3 separate regions of the Homo sapiens genome follow, and regions 2 and 3 are each linked to region 1. Evidence: promoter capture Hi-C in human tissues and cell types (Jung and others, 2019). All regions are on one chromosome and are shown on one strand. The core of a region is centred on a gene start or on the middle of the fragment in contact, and the rest is flanking DNA. Distances in the headings are between cores, read along the strand shown. Region 1 holds the start of TANGO6 (transport and golgi organization 6 homolog). Region 2 overlaps TANGO6 (transport and golgi organization 6 homolog). Region 3 overlaps CDH3 (cadherin 3).

The links. The method cuts DNA at HindIII sites, captures the fragments that hold promoters and counts their contacts. A contact is called where the count stands out against the background at its distance.
Region 2: a fragment that was not itself captured here is called in contact with the fragment with the promoter of TANGO6 in region 1 in 2 of the 25 tissues and cell types used here (bladder and lymphoblastoid cells).
Region 3: a contact is called between a fragment that was not itself captured here and the fragment with the promoter of TANGO6 in region 1, in 1 of the 25 tissues and cell types used here (mesenchymal stem cells).

What each region holds. Positions count from the first base shown.
Region 1 is chr16:68,841,362-68,845,590 of GRCh38, forward strand. It overlaps TANGO6 (transport and golgi organization 6 homolog), which reads left to right and starts at 2,170. Exons shown (of 18, transcript NM_024562.2): 1 at 2,170-2,350. The coding sequence starts at 2,257. RefSeq lists an enhancer at 2,141-2,410. The HindIII fragment of the contact is 20,381 bases long and covers 1-4,229 here.
Region 2 is chr16:69,014,021-69,018,249 of GRCh38, forward strand. The region is part of intron 15 of TANGO6 (transport and golgi organization 6 homolog); the gene reads left to right. Among named protein-coding and RNA genes, the nearest start is that of HAS3, 90 kb to the right of the region's middle. The HindIII fragment of the contact is 8,154 bases long and covers 1-4,229 here.
Region 3 is chr16:68,679,902-68,684,130 of GRCh38, forward strand. It overlaps CDH3 (cadherin 3), which reads left to right. Exons shown (of 16, transcript NM_001793.6): 7 at 1-73; 8 at 1,067-1,195; 9 at 2,401-2,586. Among named protein-coding and RNA genes, the nearest start is that of CDH3-AS1, 36 kb to the left of the region's middle. The HindIII fragment of the contact is 4,049 bases long and covers 1-3,275 here.

The DNA.
Region 1 (4,229 bases), core at 920-3,419:
ATGGGTCAGACCAGAGGTCTCCATTGTGGAGCTCTGAGACAGTCTGAGAATTTTGAATTCAAACTTGATAGAATTTTCAAGGTAGGAGGATAGAAAATATTTTAGTTACCAGTCTCTTCGCTTGATTTCTAACACTGAAACATTTAGGCTGGCGGCGTGAGGGCCTCTACCTGTACTTTTGCACCAAACCCCTCAAGCCTTCCCCACACAGTGCTTTACCCCCGTCTCACTAAATGTTTAACATCTCAAAATACTCTTAAAATTTTTTATTTCCCAAATGAACCTGTGCCCATACACAATGGAGAAAACATTGTCTAATGACAAAACCTGGAAAGGAATACACAAAATAAAAAGAGCACAGTGGCAATTTTGTAGGTGATTTATTTCCCATTCAAAAATATTTTTAAGGCCAGAACCGGTGGCTCACGCCTGCAATTTCAGTATTTTGGAAGGTCGAAATGGGCAAATTGCTTGAGCCCAGGAGTTTGAGACCAGCCTGGGTGACATGGTGAAACGCCATCTCTACAAAAATTAGCCGGGTGTGGTGGCATGCATCTGTAGTCCCAGCTACTTGGGAGGCTGAGGCGGGAGGATCACTTGAGCAGGGGAGGCAGAAGTTGGAGTGAGCCAAGATCACACCACTGCACTTCAGCCCGGGTGACAGTGAGATTCTGTCTCACACACACACACAAGATTTTATTCGGAAGGCTGAGGCAGGAGGATCACTTGAGGCCAGGAGTTTGAGACAAGTCTGGGCAACATAGAGACTCCATCTCTAAAAAAAAATTTTTAGCGTTTTTCCCTCTCAGGCCCTGCATTCCAAAATGACAAAGAAAAGAAGAAACAAGAGTCATGCCAAAAAGGGTAATAGCTATGCGCAGCTTATTCTCGCCCAAGGACCGGACCATTAAGAAGTTTGTCCTTTGGGCCGGGCGCAGTGGCTCACGCCTGTAATCCCAGCACTTTGGGAGGCCCAGGTGGGCAGGTCACTTGAGGTGAGGAGCTCAAGACCAGCCTAGCCAAGAGGGCGAAACCTTGTCTCCACAAAAAATACAAAAATTAGCCGGGCATGCTGGGGCACTCCAGTAATCCCAGCTACTCGGGGGGCTGAGGCCAGATAATTGTTTCAGCCTGGGAGGCAGAGGTTGCAGTGAGCCGAGATCACGCCACTGAACTCCAGCCTAGGCGACAGAGCGAGACCCCATCTCAAAAAATAAAATAAAAATAAAGGTCCTGCCCTCAAAAACATTGTCCTGTGTCTGCGGCATGACTTTCAGACAACATGGTTTTTCAACGTCCCACCAGGATTTATGTAGGTGAAAACCTGTTTCCGATAATCTGAATCTCAAATCCATTCTGTTTTACATATAAAAACAGTTTGGCGGAGGGCATGGTTTTGATAGACCCTGAATTTTCGAGGAATGCATCAACCATGAAAACAGAACACAGATCGAACTTTTACTGGGAACTTTACTAAGTTCACTGAAAAAAAAAATCATATTACCCATAACAACATTTGTAGCTTTACATTCACGATGGATATATATGCGTGTGTACGTCTGTACTTAGGTTTTGTTTGTTTGTTTGTTTTGAGATGGAGTCTCGCTCTGTCGCCCAGGCTGGAGTGCAGTGGTGTGATCTCGGCTCACTGCAACCTCGACCTCCCAGCTTCGAGCGATTCTCCTGCCTCAGCCTCCCGGGTAGCTGGGACTACAGGCGCCCGCCACCACGCCTGGCTAATTTTTGTATGTTTAGTAGAGACGGGGTTTCACCATATCGGACAGGTTGGTCTCAAACTCCTGACCTTGTGATCTGCCCGCCTCGGCCTCCCAGAGTGCTGCGATTACAGGTGTGAGCCACCGCGCCCAGCCTGAATATTGTTTTTCTTATCCATACTTCACTGTAAGCAGATGGAAGCATCTGTCTGCTTCATTATGTCTGCCAGTGTTGAGTACCTGAGTATTTTCATATTGAAATATAGCTTTAATGATACATTACTTCTCTCTTCCTTCTTTACATAGCGGTTAATCATATTGAGCTTCTGAAATTGTGCGCGTGGGCAGATTAGCCATTTTTGGGTTCCCTCTTACCCCCCGGACTAAGCCGGGACGGAAAAAAAATGTGAAGGGGGCGTTCCCGATCGATTTGGCCCCGCCCCATAGTGTGCCCAGAGCCTTCTGCCACACTTAACATGGCGGCGGCGGCGCCCTGCCGAGGCGCCTGAGCGGGTCGCGAGCGTGGTGTTACACTCCAGTCATGGCGGCCCGACAGGCCGTGGGCAGCGGGGCTCAGGAGACATGCGGTCTGGATCGGATTTTGGAGGCATTGAAGCTGCTGCTGAGCCCGGGAGGTGAGAGGACGCATCTCCGCGCCGGGCTGGACCCGGGACTCTCAGGGCCGCCCGGCTTCCGGGGCTGCCCTGCCTTCCGCAGCGTGCGCCCCTTAGGCCCGCCTCGGGACCCTCCGCCCGCTGCTGGGGGCTTTGAGCATTGTCTATGCCCGTCCTCATTACGTTCTTGAGGAAACTGAGGCTCAAGGAGGGCGCGGGATCCGTTGACTGCTGATATTAGCCAACATCTCTTGAGCATTTGCCTTGTGCTGGGCTCTGTCAGGCGGGGCCGTTATTTCATTCAGTGCTTACTGCAGCGCTCTTGGGAGGGGGATATGGACCCAGCTCCAGAGAGGGTAGGGCGCCCGCGACGTAGAAATGTGAGGTCCTAGCCGCGTGAGGGCGCAGGGGCCAGCATGGACCCTTGAGATTTGTACGAAATGCCAAGAAGTCCAGACATCGGAAGCAGTGACGTTTGAAATGGGTTTGGGGAGAGTATTTAGGGGTTACCAGGCGCTTTTAATCTTTGTGGTGCGTGGACAGTTTCTTCCCAGTCTAAAATCTGAAGGGATATTGGGAGTGGTTGAAGCTGCTACTCCTTTTGCGACTGAGGACACCCAAGGCTCACTGAAGAAATTAAGTAACCTGTCCAAGATCACGTGGTCAAATTAGGGGCAGAACACGGACCTAGGCCCGAGATCTACTGAACCCCCTTCTCAGAATCAGACAAATTGTTCAGTATAGGGGCTCTGATGTTATCTGGAGCTTTTGGAAAGGACGTGGAAGATAGAGCTCTGCTTATCACTGGGGTGTATATTTGGGGGAAGGGATGGGAAGGGATCTGTAGAATTAGCAAGGGCACATGAAAGGCCAAAGGGGATCACCTCCCAGTCTCAGATTTTATACTTAAAACTGCAAAAACTTCTGCAAACATTACACCACACCAGCGGGAAGTGAACACAAGTTACTAATATTAGTAAATGAGTGCCTACTAAGTATCAGTCCCCATAGTAGGCTGTTGACATACACATCATTTAATCCTCATTACGATCCCCTGGGATCGGTACTACTTGTATTCAATTTTTACGGATGAAGGACCAAGGTTCAGGTACATTGGAAATTGCCCAATGTCAGACTAGTAAGTGGCAGAATTTGAATTTAGGTTATTTCCACTAAAAGTATGGTAAATATGCTACATTGTCTCAATTAAGAGTCAGACTGCAAAATAGAATTTTAAGTTGCTAATCGAGAGGTCACTTGTCTTCTAACGGCAACTCTTTTTTTTTTTTTTTTTTGAGATGAGGTCTCACTCTGTTGCCCAGGCTGGAGTGCAGTGGCACAATCTCGGCTCACTGCAACCTCTGCCTCCCAGGTTCAAGCGATTCTCCTGCTTCAGCCTCCCGAGTAGCTGGGATTACAGGTGCACACCACCATGCCCAGCTAATTTTTGTCTTTTTAGTAGAGACGGAGTTTTGCCATGTTGGCCAGGCTGGTCTCGAACTCCTGACCTCAAGTGATCTGCCTGCCTTGGCCTCCCAAAGTGCTGGGATTACAGGCCTGAGCCACTACACCTGGCCTGCAACTCTCTATTGTATGACTGAGAACACGTTTAAATAAGCAAAAATCCTGAAAGTAATCATCTGTTATGAAACATGTATATTATGCTTCATTTATAGAAGACTCTCTAATCTCTATGAGTATGTGGTGGAGTACACATATATGTACTCATTTAATTTACAGAAATTCAAGCATTCCTATTTGAAGAGGAATTAGTTCGTGAAATTATATTATTTTGTACATGTAGTCTTATATATTATATGAATCTGTCTACTATTTTATCATATTAGCTGCTTAGGGAATTTAAAAATATCTGTAGTGGCTGGGCGAGGTGGGCCATACC
Region 2 (4,229 bases), core at 564-3,063, 170 kb after region 1:
TGACATTGAGGTATTCTACAACTTTATATATGAAGAGCATTCCAGTTTTCATATATCAGGATGCTTTTGGCTGCAAGTAACAGAAATTCCCAACTCAAGTGGCTTAACAAAGAATGAATTATCACACATAACAAAAATTCCAGGATTGCTAATTCTCTAGCTCAGTGACATCATTGAAGACCCATATTCTTTTCATCTTTCTCTGTCAACCACAGCTTATGGGCCTTATCCTTTAGTTCCTCATGGTTTCAAGTTGGTTGCAGCAACTCTAAGGCAACCCTAATTCATATATCCTTATGATAGCCAAAGGCAAAAAGTTTTCTGAGAGTCTTCTAGCAGACTTTCCTTCACAACTCCTTGTCCAGAACTGGGTCACATGCCCATGCCTAAACCAATTAAAGCAAAGGGAGATGTCCACCACGATTCACTTAGACCAATGGAAACTGTAGCCTGAATCACATGGGGAGGGATGGCGACAGGTGGATACTTGAACAAAATTAATGTACTGTTTGTAAGGAAAATTGGGAAAATGCCAGTGAGATGTATACAAAATTTGACATAGAGGAATCCCTAAAGCTCAAATTAACCCCTGGGCTGGGCACAGTGGCTCACACTTATAATCTCAGCACTTTGGGAGTCTAAGGCAGGAGGATCACTTGAGCCCAGGAGTTCGAGACCAGCCTGGGCAACATAGCAAGGCCCAATCTCTGTAAAAAAAATTGTAACCAGCTGGGCATGGTGGTGTGCATCTATAGTCCCACCCTACTCAGGAGGCTAAAGCAAGAGGATCTCTTGAGCCCAGGAGTTTGATTCTGCAGTGAGTTATGATTGCACCACTGCACTCTAGCCTGGGTGACAGAACAAGACCTTGTCTCAAAAAAAAAAAAAAAAGAAAAAGAAAAGACAAAGAACCTCTTATGTAGGATCTTAAAATTCAATGCCTATGCCAAATTGCAGCCCTGGAAGATTCTTTGACTATGTGCATTCATTTTGTTCTCCATAGAAACCAGTTCAAGCCAACTCCCACCTGGAGACTAGGGTACAATACAGTCCTGAGACCTCTATCACAAGATCAGAAGGGAGGGAAGATTAGTCAGAGGGTAGCAGAGCCCCAAGAAATGAAGGCAAGGTCATAAATCCCCAAAGAAGACCAGGTTTGAGCCAAGTATGTGACAGATCTAGGCTATGTATGTGAGGCCTAAGAGAGGTCCAGTCTCGGAGAACGTGGAGGCAGGGGCCCTTTGAGAAATGCAGAGTGGATGCAGTGAGTGTTCCAGTTCTTCCAGTCCAACACTTGGAAAACAAGGTAGCAAGTGAGCCCAGAGCCAGCTGACCAGGTACAATGCAGGGTCTGAGATGCTGACACTCCCACTGGCTTCTTGGGTTCTCAGATGTAGCTGGGATGGGTTGATGGAGCATGTAGTTTAACAGATGCTCATTTTATTTTATTTATTTATTTATTTATTTATTTATTTATTTTAAACAGAGTCTTGCTCTGTCGCCCAGGCTGGAGTGCTGTGGCATGATCTCGGCTAACTGTAAGCTCCACCTCCTGGGTTCACGCCATTCTCCTGCCTCAGCTTCCCGAGTAGCTGGGACTACAGGCGCCCGCCACCACGCCCAGATAATTTTTTGTATTTTTAATAGAGACCGGGTTTCGCCATGTTAGCCAGGATGGTCTCGATCTCCTGACCTCATGATCCGCCCCCTCTGCTTCCCAAAGTGCTGGGATTACAGGCATGAGCCACCGCACCTGGCCAATGGATGCTCATTTTCAAAGGAGTGCTGGAGCTCAGTTAGGGCAGGAATTTACATAAATGGAACGTTAAGTTGCAGTTTTGTTAATATAGTGATATGCTCTTGACTTATATGGCCAGTCAGTATAAGAAACAGCCGTATGATTCCTGCATTGAATATAAAGCTTCTATTGCCCACTCTCTTCTTCACTTTTCCACCAGGCCCTCACATGCCTTGTTCCTTGAGGTCTTCTCCTCTGAGAGCTCTTCCCTGAGCCCTCACCCACATTGTCAACTCCCCCGCTCCTTATTTTTTTTCATAGCCTTCATTGCTGCTGGAAATTTTATTATTTATTGTCTTTCTTCCCCGCTAGAAGTAGGCTTCATGAAGATGGGAGCTTTGATTTCTTGTTCATGCCATATTGTCCTCAGTACTGAGAACATTGGCACATTGGAGTACTGTGGGCACTCAATTAAGATTTGCTGGATCAATTAGCCAGGCGTGGTGGCACATGCCTGTAATCCCAGCTACTTGGGAGGCTGAGGCAGGAGAATTACTTGAACCTGGGAGAGGGAGGTTGCGGTGAGCCGAGATTGCGCTGTTGCATTCCAGCCTGGGCAACAAGAGCGAAACTCCATCTCAAAAAAAAAAAAAAGATTTGCCGGATGAATGAATGAGATACCTCTTAGTGTCCTTCCTGAAGTTTCTCTCTCTTCATGATGTTCCTTCTTTTATTGGATAATGAGAGCTGTGTTTTCTAATTCCTTTTTTGCCTTAGCTACCAAGAATTGTAAAATTAAACTACTAAACTCTTGGTTTATTTGCAGTAGCCATTCTTAGCTTGGGATGTCTGCACTTCTCTCACTTACTGTAGAGGTTTTAAAATATTTATTTTATGTATTTTATTTTATTTATTATTATTATTTTGAGATGGAGTCTCTACCCAGGCTGGAGTGCAATGGTGCGATCTCAGCTCACTGCAACCTCCGCCTCCTGGGTTAAAGCTATTCTTCTGCCTCAGCCTCCTGAGTAGCTGGGACCACAGGCAGGCACCACCACACCTGGCTAAATTTTTTGTATTTTTAGTAGAGATGGGTTTCACCATGTTGGCCAGGATGGTCTCAAACTCCTGACCTCAGGTGATTCGCCCACCTCAGCCTCCCAAAGTGCTGGGATTACAGGTGTAAGCCACCATACCCAGCCTAAAATGTTTATTTTAATGACACATGGTTTCAACGTTATTTATTGTAAGTTGCTTCAGATCCTGTGTGGAAGTAAACGAAGACTGAATAATAAGTGAACTAATTGAAGGGTAACAGGGAGTAGTGAAAAAAAAATGAACACACTTTAGAGTCTGAGCAAATAAGATAATACTGGAGCTGTTGTTAATAGAATAGAAACCAGATCAAACATTACTCATAAAAGTCCCTCTCTGTCACCATTTTGGCACATCTCACTCCATTGTTATTGCTTGGTCAGTATTTTTCCTCTTCCCCATTAGGTTTTGCCATGAGGGTAAGGACTGTATCTTTCTTGCTTATGATTAGTCCCCCAGGGCCCAGCACAGTGGCAGACACATAGTACACACTTAATCATTATTTGATAAGTTAATATGCCTTTTCTTTATCATTTATTTTTAACTATAAGCCACTATATTAGTAAACATTAAAATGTTTCTCCTGTGTTCTTACCCTTTTCAACCTGCAATTTCCCCTGCTTGTAGATTCCAAACTTCCTTCATTTTTTATGTGCCTTCCTTCCTGACAAGGAACCTTCTTCCTTTAACCACAACAGCCTCCCACTCCAGGGCTCATGAATGTGTGCCTTTTCTTCCTTCCCCAGTCTCCTAAATCTCATTTTCCTAATGACTAAACTGAAAGTGACTCACCAACTCACACACTTAGAAGTGGAAGGGGCCTGAGAGGTCATCTTGTCTCACTGGCTCATCTCCACTTCCAGGGAAGCGAAGTGAATTGCCCAGGGGTCACTCTGCTGGTTGGCAGCAGGGCCAACCCTAGAACACAGATCTCTAACTCTGGATCCTCATCTCCCACTGCAGAGTGAGCAAGCCCCCTTCCTAACTCCAGAAAGAGAAAGCACTGCAACAAAGGTAGAAAAGTATATTTTAGTCTTAGTTGGAAATCTTTTTTTTTTTTTTTTTGAGAGACAGAGTCTCACCCTTGTTGCCCAAGCTGGAGTGCAATGGCGTGATCTCAGCTCACTGCAACCTCATCATCCCAGGTTCAAGCAATTCTCCTACCTCAGCCTCCCAAGTAGCGGGATTACAGGAGCCCATCACCATGCTTGGCTAATTTTTGTATTTTTAGTAGAGACGAGGTTTCACCATGGTGAGCCACACCATGCCCAGCCGTTGGAAATCTCTTTTTTTTTTTTTTTTTTTTTTGAGACAGAGTCTCTCTCTGTCGCCCAGGCTGGAGTGCAGTGGTGTGATCTCGGCTCACTGCAAGCTCCGCCTCCCGGGTTCACGCCAT
Region 3 (4,229 bases), core at 1-2,500, 160 kb before region 1:
ACACGACCTCATGTTCACCATTCACCGGAGCACAGGCACCATCAGCGTCATCTCCAGTGGCCTGGACCGGGAAGTGAGTGGCCCTTAGGGAAAGTACTGCCTACCCAGACTTGCCCAGGCTGGGAACTGACTCTGAGAGCAGAAGCTCCTATCCCTGCCCACAAAGCCCAAGGCAGAACAGTGAGGACCCACGTCAGCTGGGATGGCCACTGCTGGGTTCACATGCCATGCCCCTGGTTCCTTGGGCCTGTGGCCCGCTGCCAGCCAATCTCGTTAAATCTCCTCCAGGGCTGGGAGGCAGCTGTAAAATGCCTACTTTTGGTATTTTCTGTAGGTTTTCTCATTTCCTCTCAGAGTGGCTCACTTAGTGTGCACATTACCCAAATTGGTCCCTTATGTGCCACAAAGTAGAATTAGCTCCATGGATACTGGATTTGCTGCCTGTTTCCTAATTGATACCTTTATCCAAATCCTCACTCAAAACTCTTTTTCTGAGGCCAGGCACAGTGGCTCACGCATGTAATCTCAGCACTTTGGGAGGCCAAGGCGGGAGGATCACTTGAGGTCAAGAGTTCAAGACCAGCCTGGCCAACATGGTGAAACCCTGTCTCTACTAAAAATACAAAAATTAGCTGGGCGTGGTGGCAGGCACCTGTAATCCCAGCTACTTGGGAGGCTGAGGCAGGAGAATCACTTGAACCTGGGAGGTGGAGTTTGCAGTGAGCCAAGATCACGCCACTACACTGCAACCTGGGCGACAGGGCAAGATCCTGTCTCAAAAACAAAAGCAAGACTCATTCTGGAGCAGTTAAGGGTCAGGGGGCGATGCCAAGGCTTCCCTAGGACAGGCCCAGGAGAACTATTTGGATCACTCGTTCCCTCTCCAACAGCATCCTCTGCTTCTGTTCTCCTGGCAGTGGGTGAGGGGTGGTCAAGGAGTCAGCGTTATGATAGGGAGAGATCCTCCTCTCCATCCACACACCCATGAGCCAGTGCTTCCTGGAGGTCAGGGGAGGGACCCTTCAGATTAAACTCACAATGGGCTTCCCCTCTCCTTTCTCCCCAGAAAGTCCCTGAGTACACACTGACCATCCAGGCCACAGACATGGATGGGGACGGCTCCACCACCACGGCAGTGGCAGTAGTGGAGATCCTTGATGCCAATGACAATGCTCCCATGTTTGACCCCCAGAAGGTAATGCCCCTTCCTCACTCAGTCCCTCATCAGATAATGAAGGACCAAAGTTTGCCTTTCTCAGGAAACTGGAACCAGTCTATATTGCTTCAAATGCCAGTCTCAGCACTATGGCTGTGTGACCTTAGGAAAACTACCTAACCTCTCTGTGCCCCATTTCCTAATCTGTGAAAAGGAGATAATGATAATACCTGCTGCATTGTTCTGAGTTTCAAATGAAATAATCTATGTACGTTTCCTAACACGATGCCCTAAAAGAAGTGCTTGATATGAAAATCTTTGTTGATTTGAAAACATATTTTCCTTGTACCTACACCTGCCCATCTTTTCCCAGTGAATGCTTGTGTACCTCCAAGGCAGAGGACTCAGTGCCAATCAAGGTGCCAATTACATCCTCCCCCTTCCATCTTTAGACAACTCTGAACGTTAATTAGGTCTGAATAAAAATTTGTAATGACGCCAGGGGCGGTGGCTCACACCTGTAATCCCAGCACTTTGGGAGGCCAAGGCGGGCAGAACACTTTTGAGGCCAGGAGTTCAAGACGAACCTGGCCAATATGGCGAAACCCCGTCTCTACTAAAAATACAAAAATTAACCAGGTGCAGTGGCATACACCTGTAGTCCCAGCTACTTGGGAAGCTGAGACATGAGGATCGCTTGAGCTTGGGAGGTGGAGGTTGCAGTGAGCCGAGATCACACCACTGCACTCCAGCCTGAGCGGCAGACTGAGACTGTCTAAAAAAATAAAATAAAAATAAATAAATAAATTTTTTGTTCCGAGCAACTGATTTTCCAGTCTTTGTCACATGTCCCAGAACCTCCAAAAAATTTCTGTTCAGTGCCCCAGCCCATTCAGGCACCTAGCCCTTCTTGCCACCTTCCTTATTCCTTTCTGATCTCAGCTGGATAGATAGCTACACGTGGCAGGGGCTTGGGCATGCAAACCCGTGAGATTTCTGGAACATCAGGCCCCTGCGTGTAGGGAAAGCAGGCACAGGATTGGTGTGGTCTGTGCCAGCAGCTGTGAGGCTGCTGCTGGGGACATCCTGCCGCTGTGTATACCCTGAAACCCCGCAAAGTGGGTGGGTGGTCCAGGAAAGGGTAAAGGCATGGGGATCCCCTGAGGTTGGATGGAGGCTTCTCAGCCTCTGGAGTAGGACAGTCATTCTCTGCTCTGATAGTGCTGTGCTTCTCACACTGACAGTACGAGGCCCATGTGCCTGAGAATGCAGTGGGCCATGAGGTGCAGAGGCTGACGGTCACTGATCTGGACGCCCCCAACTCACCAGCGTGGCGTGCCACCTACCTTATCATGGGCGGTGACGACGGGGACCATTTTACCATCACCACCCACCCTGAGAGCAACCAGGGCATCCTGACAACCAGGAAGGTGAGTCAGTTCGGGCCTCAGACAATGGCTATACCTGGGGCAGTCAGGTCTGCAGCCTTCAGGATGAGGAGCCACTGTCTACCGTGGGCTAGTCCAGGAATCGTACCAGCCCAGTGGCTCCCAACACTGTTCTACCACTCTTGTGTTGGGAAGTCCCTTTGTTCAAACTAAATCTTACCCAGGAGCCCACTTCATAAATAGGTAAGAGTCACTGATTAATTGAAGCACATCAGTGGAGCCTCCTCCCAGACCACAGTGTCCAATGGCTGCCCCGAATCAGTCTCACATAGAGAGTCCATCTTATTGAAATCCATGTTGACTTTGCATTTACTCTAAAACTCATGTCTAGGTGTTTAGATAATAAAATGTTTTGAATCACTGAGGCACACTCTTGCCTCTCAAAAAGTCTCTTTTTTGTGTGTATGTATTTTTGTTTTTATTGGGGTATAGGACGTGGGTTGGGTCAAAAAGTCTGAATAAGGCTGGGCGCAGTGGCTCACACTTATTCCCAGCACTTTAGGAGGCTGAGGTGGGAGGATCACTTGAGGCCAGGAGTTTCAGATGAGCCTGGTGAACATAGCAAGATCCCATCAGCACTAAAAAAGAAAAAAATGAAGATGGGCCTAATCTTGCATCAGTTTCTTTTACTTCCTGGTTTACTATGAAGAATGGTGTGGTTTGAGAAGCAGGGTATAAAATATTGTATGAAATAATATATTTTAAAGACTGGGGTTTGCTGTCCTGTTTTCTGCAACAAATACTTTGTAATGCCACTTCGACATTGTTAAATGATGTGAAATGAAGTTCATTTATAATATAACTAACCTAACTCATTATTTCTAAAAATAGAGAATGTCCTAACTAAAATAAAGAAAAAATCCAGACCGGGTGCTGTGGCTCACGCCTGTAATCCCAGCACTTTGGGAGGCCGAGGTGGGTGGATCACGAGGTCAGGAGACCGAGACCATCCTGGCTAACATGGTGAAACCCCGTCTCTACTAAAAATACAAAAAAATTAGCTGGGCGTGGTGGCAGGCGCCTGTAGTCCCAGCTACTTGGGAGGCTGAGGCAGGAGAATGGCGTGAACCCGGGAGGTGGAGCTTGCAGTGAGCCGAGATCGCACCACTGGACTCCAGCCTGGGTGACAGAGCAAGACTCTGTCTCAAAAAAAAAAAAAAAAAAAAAAAAAAAAAGAAAATCCAGCCTGGACAACATGGAGAAAAAAAAAAAAAAAGAAAATCCAGCCTGGACAACATGGAGAAATCCCGTCTACGCTAAAAGTATAAAAAATTCGCTGGGGCCGGGCACGATTGCTCATGCCTGTAATCCTAGCACTTTGGGAGGCCGAGGCAGACAGATCACCTGAGGTTGGGAGTTCGAGACCAGCCTGGCCATCGTGGTGAAACCCGTCTCTACTAAAAATACAAAAATTAGCTGGGCGTGGTGGCACATGCCTGTAGTCCCAGCTACTCGAGAGGCTGAGGCAGGAGAATCGCTTGATCTCGGGAGGCGGAGGTTGCAGTGAGCTGAGTTCGCATCACTGCACTCCAGCCTGGATGACAGAGCGAGACTCCGTCTCCAAAAAAAAAAAAAAAAAGCTGGGTGCGGTGGCACACACCTGTAGTCCCAGCTACCCAGGAGGC